Linked DNA regions of Homo sapiens: region 1 is linked to region 2. Evidence: promoter capture Hi-C in human tissues and cell types (Jung and others, 2019). All regions are on one chromosome and are shown on one strand. Each heading gives the region's core, a stretch centred on a gene start or on the middle of the fragment in contact. The rest is flanking DNA. Distances are from core to core; before and after follow the strand shown. Region 1 overlaps PSMB2 (proteasome 20S subunit beta 2). Region 2 holds the start of AGO4 (argonaute RISC component 4).

Region 1 (2,700 bases), core at 97-2,596, 170 kb after region 2:
ATAGATAATATAAGTGAATGTTTTTCGTTTATTAACAAGTTTGCAAACTAACAATCTTTAAATCTAGCCTGCATAACAAATAAAAGTGTGTTTGTTTAGGAGTTTTGAGGCAATTTGATATTATCTACAGGTGCATTTTGTGTGTTTTTTCCCTCCAAGTCTAAGAAGCCATATTACTGGTATCTACAACTCTGAAACACTTGTAAAGTATTTGACAGTAGCATTTTGTTCTTTAAATCCTATTAAAGGATTTTGGCATTTCAGAAGCTTTCAAACAGGAAACGTGTCTCCCAGGGAGGATTATTCAGCACTATTTGAAAAATGAAAAGTGAAAGTGAAAGTGAGATAGGAAGATTTAGGCCTTTTCTGAAGCTGCAGACTGAATGTGGAGTTTTCTTCCTTAGGCAATAACTGTAACCTGAATATTTATTTATCTGTCTAATCTGAATGACTCTGGTTCAGCTAGATAAGATTAGAGTATTAGGATTTTTGTGAGGTATTTTAAATAGCTTACTGTCAAAATATTCACTAGAATTTTTGCTTTGGCAATCATTTTAATTTTCTCTTTTTCTTTGGAAGTGGAATTTGTTTACTTTTTAAAGTGATTAATATTCTCAGTTGATTTTCTATTCTTTCTTGAAATGGTTCCTTAATTTTAATTATAGCACCAGTCCTTTTCATATATGCTTTTGTATGTGTATAAATATAATAACTAACATTTGTAGTTGTGGAAACATTTTAGGGCTTTGTTATCATGAGCCTAAAGATAATCGCCATTGGCTGGATTCCTTCAGTTTCTTCTGTCGTTCTGTTCCTTGCATTTCAAATGCCTTTAAATGCTTTAAATTGTATTTTCAATTGGTAGCTTTCATGTATATTCTCCAACCGAAATTGGCATTACACAATATGCTGATGGTTTAACATGAAGAGTGAAAGAGAAAAATTGATACCATTACCTATTAAAATCTTCTAAAAGCAATAATTAGTTAAATTATTCAATATACAGTCGTCCCTTGGTATCTGTAGGGATTGGTTCCAGAACCCCTGCAGATACCCAAATCCATAGATGCTTAAAGTCCATTATATACATGGTATAGTATTTGCATATTACCTATGCAGGTACTCCTGTGTACTTCAAATCATCTCTAGATTATTTATAATACTTAATATGACATAAGTGCTATGTAAATAGTTGTTATACCATATTGTTTAGGGAATAATGACCAGAAAAAAAGTCAGTACATGTTCAGGATAGATGCAAGCATCCATTTTTTTTTTTTTCTGAATAATTTTGATCCATAGTTTGTTGAATTGTGGATTCAGAATCCATGTATATGGAAGGCCAACTGTAGTAATTAATAAACCTGTTTATGGTTACATAAATAATGACGGTCAATGTCTGTTAAGGCAGTTTCTAACACAGTTTTCTTCTTTGAGCAGATCATGACAAGATGTTTAAGATGAGTGAAAAGATATTACTCCTGTGTGTTGGAGAGGCTGGAGACACTGTACAGTTTGCAGAATATATTCAGAAAAACGTGCAACTTTATAAGATGCGAAATGGTGGGTAAGACTTACAGTTTTAGTTGGCATATGAGTTTACTAGGGCTGCCATTACTAAAGTCACAGACTGGGTGGCTTAAACAACAGAAATGTATTTTCTCACAGTTCTAGATGTTAGAAGTCAAAGATTAAGGTGTTGGCAGCGTTGATTTCTGAGGCCTCTCTCCTTGGCTTGCAGATAGCCATCTTCTCCCTGTGTCTTCACGTGATTTTTCTCTTTGTACTATATCCAAATTTTCTCTTCTAAGAATACCAGTCATGTTGAATTAGGAACTCATTTTAATTTAATAACCTCTTAAGGATCCCTTCTCCAAATACAGTCACATACTAAAGTACTAGGGATTAAGACTTCAACATATGAATTTTTGGTGGACAAAATTCAGCCTATAACAATTGGTTTGTCTTTAAATTTGAACTGAAAAATAATATTCTTTAAGACTTATGTGGTCATATTTTCTTTTTTTTTTTTTTTTTTTTTTTTGAGACGGAGTCTCGCTCTGTTGCCCAGGCTGGAGTGCAATGGCGCGATCTCTGCTTACTGCAACCTCCGCCTCCCAGGTTCAAGCGATTCTCCTGTCTCAGCCTCCTGAGTAGCTGGGACTACAGGCACGCACCACCACGTCCAGCTAATTTTTGTATTTTTAGTAGAGACAGGGTTTCACCACGTTGACCAGGATGGTCTCCATCTCTTGACCTTGTGATCTGCCCACCTCGGCCTCCCAAAGTGCTGGGATTACAGGCGTGAGCCACCACGCCCAGCCCATATTTTCATTAGAGTTTTCTGTGTTTAAGAAGTTGTCTAGACCCTAAAGATTCTAATCCTTCATAAAAGATTTTCTACAAAAATCCTAGAGCAGAGAACTGTTGTAACACTGATAGCTGATAGATAAAACTAACACCATCGGCCTGGTATGATGGCTCATGCCTGTAATCCCAGCAATTGGGGAGGACAAGGTGGGAGGATCACTTGAGACCAGGAGTTTAAGACTAGCCTGAGCAATGTAGTGACACCTCATCTCTACAAAAAAAAAAAAAATTTTTTTTTTTTTTGAGATGGAGTTTCACTCTTGTTGTCCAGGCTGGAGTGCAGTGGCACAATCTCGGCTCACCGCAACCTCTGCCTTCCAGGTTCAAGCA
Region 2 (2,824 bases), core at 311-2,810:
AGGCATATGAAATTTGATTATGAGGGCCTTTAAACAATACTTTAAGAAGCAAATTAGGGTGGGGCTTAATCACTCAGCTATGCAAACAAGTGCTAAGTAAACAAACGTGCCAAGTTTCCAAACTCAAATGGCAACTCGAATTTTCTACGCACTAAAAAGATGAAACACTCTACGACTAAGTTCATTATGTAGGTAAAGTTTGAATATTAAAGTGAATTCCACCACAGCCCCTAAACACTGAGCTACTTAGCCAAGGCATTAGAAACCTGTTGGGCTTTGAGGTGGAAGCACCAGGCCCCAATACTCAGGACACTTGTTACAGCCTGGAATGGTTCTTCTGGTTTGGATAGAGAGAAATAACCAGAGGCCATCCATATCCACAACAAATTAGTTTCCAAAGCACTTTCTCCTTCATTTGATCCTCACAACCACTCATAACCCAATTAGAAGAGAACTCAGGGCATTGAAGCCTGTGGTGGAGCAGACTGACTGGCAACTCCTGTGTCACTCAAAGGCTGGCTCAGACCACTCTGAGACTAACACACAGACTGAGTGACAGAGGCACAGGACCATGTTCTTTGGGACATCAGGGCCTTTCAGAAAGGGTGGGCATTTTGTCCCTTGACCTTCAGAGATCATGAGAGGTGTTTGGATGAAGTTCTTCTTCCTCATCTGAAGGCTCTGGACCATCTGCCAGTGCAAAGAAAAATAGGGGCGCGGCCCCAAACCAGGACTACCGGCTGGTAGTAGGCAGCGGGGCCCTTTTCCCGGTCTGGGCCAGGCCTCCGCGCGCACTGGGTAGCGGATCGCCCCCTTCTGAGGCCCAAACTACCCTCGTCGCGACCCCGGGCACATATCGTCTCCCCGAGGTGGGGCCAAGAGTGGCCTCCGCCCGGCAGCGCCGGTCACCTTCCCGAACCTCCCCCCTGGACCTCGGGATCCACCCAACGGCCGGCTGGGGCGCGGTCACCGCCCCCCAGGCCCGGGTCAGCTCCCTCCGCTTCGTGCTGCGGGGCTCGGGTCCCCTTCCCCGAGGCCTGGCGGCCCGAACCCGGCGAGGCGACGGGGCAGCGAAAGTCCCGGCCGCCCGCCCCGGGTCCCGGGTCCCGGGTCCCGCCCCGACCCGAGCTCGCTCCTCACCGGGTCCCAGCGCCTCCATGGCGGCGGCGGGGGCCGCCTCGCCCCGGTCCCCGGCGCCTCCCGCTCCGGGCCCCGCCGCCGCCGCCGCCGCCGCCGCGTAACGCTTGATCTCCGGAATATTGGCGCTGGGGTGGCGCCGCGGAGACGCGGGCGCTGGGCAGGGGGCGGCGGCGGCGCCCGGCCCGGGGACAGGGACCCGGCTCCGGCTCTTCCGGCCTCAGCGACAACAAAAACAATCCCCGCCGCCGCCGCCGCCGCCGCCGCCAACGGGAGCGGGAGCGGGAGCCAGCGCGCGCGCCCGCCGGGAGGGAAGGGGGCGCGGGGTGCGCGGACCCAGGGTCCCGGCGGGCGGAGGGGGCGTGCGCGGCCCCGGGCGCGGGGTCCACAGAGCCCGGCAGGCGGCGAGGCGGGTCGGGGAACGAGCGCGCGCCCGGAGGGTGCAGAGCCCGGTGGACGTGTCGGGCACGCGCCCGCTGGCCCGCTCTGCCCCGTCCACCCGAGGAGGCCGTCCGGTGGCCAACGGCTCTGGGGGCTACGTGCCATCCCCCCAGGGCGTCCTGCAAAAGATCTGGATTCCAGTTCCGCTGACCCACAGATTCAGTTTTCCACTTCTGTGAGTGGAAAGTGTACTGAGATTCACAGGAGCCACCTCGCCTCCCTCCTCCCTCCTCCCACCCCAGATCGCTTCTGTCATCTCGTCTTTTAGGGTCACCTTAGACGCTAGCAGTCCTCCTTCATCCCTTCATTCAGCACCACACACCCAACTGCGCGTCCCTCTCCGTATAGCCGGAAGGCACCACGGGAATGGACCCTGATGAATGATGCATTCCCTCCCTGGTCCCATGACAAGCGCCTCTGGTCAGCAAATCACCAGTCACTTTAGAAGAGAAAGGTCTTGGCCGGGCGTGGTGGCTCACGCCTGTAATACCAGCACTTTGGGAGGCGGAGGCGGGTGGATCACCTGGGGTCAGGAGTTTGAGACCATCCTGGCCAACATGGCGGAAGCCCATCTCTACTAAAAACACAAAAAATTAGCCGGGCGTGGAGGCAGGCGCCTGTAATCCCAGCTACTTGGGAGGCTGAGGCAGGAGAATCGCTTGAACCCGGGAGGCAGAGGTTTCAGTGAGCCGAAATCGGGCCACTGCACTCCAGCCTGGGCGACAGAGCAAGACTGTCTGAAAAAAAAAAAATAAAAATAAAAGAGAGAGAGAGAGAGAAAGGTCTTGCTTTCTTGGATGCCTTCCCCTTAGCAGACAAAAGCCAAGGGAGCAGCACCACCTCCAAGGCAGCATGGTCAGCCCAGCAGGCACAGCATCTTTAGGGCTTTCAGTAAGGACTTTGAGTGGGAGAACACTGGACAACAGGCCAAGAAGCAGTTTCTAGTCAGCAGAAGGAAGGAGCCCCTTGTCCACCAATTGAAAAGGTACGATGAGTTTGTGTGTGTGTGTTGTATTCCTTTGCTACGGCATAACGTAACAAAGTACCACAGACTGGGTGGCTTAAACAACAGAAATTTATTTTCTCACAATTCTGGAGGCTGGCAGTCAGAGATACGATGTAGGCAGGGTTGGTTCCTTCTGAGGCCTATCTCCTTCACTTGGTAGATAGTGGCCTTCTCCCAGTGACTTCACGTGGTCTTCCCTCTGTGCACGTCTGTGTCCAAATTTCCTCTTCTTATAAGGAC

The links. The method cuts DNA at HindIII sites, captures the fragments that hold promoters and counts their contacts. A contact is called where the count stands out against the background at its distance.
Region 1: a contact is called between a fragment that was not itself captured here and the fragment with the promoter of AGO4 in region 2, in 1 of the 25 tissues and cell types used here (hippocampus).

The regions. Positions count from the first base shown.
Region 1 is chr1:35,635,173-35,637,872 of GRCh38, reverse strand. PSMB2 (proteasome 20S subunit beta 2) reads left to right here. Exons shown (of 6, transcript NM_002794.5): 2 at 1,441-1,563. Among named protein-coding and RNA genes, the nearest start is that of PSMB2, 5.0 kb to the left of the region's middle. The HindIII fragment of the contact is 7,718 bases long and covers 1-2,700 here.
Region 2 is chr1:35,806,752-35,809,575 of GRCh38, reverse strand. AGO4 (argonaute RISC component 4) reads right to left here and starts at 1,560. Exons shown (of 18, transcript NM_017629.4): 1 at 1,141-1,560. The coding sequence starts at 1,159. It overlaps CLSPN-DT (CLSPN divergent transcript), which reads right to left. Exons shown (of 3, transcript NR_199050.1): 3 at 2,636-2,824. RefSeq lists enhancers at 508-787, 1,887-2,386 and silencers at 938-1,187, 1,468-1,677. The HindIII fragment of the contact is 21,017 bases long and covers 1-2,824 here.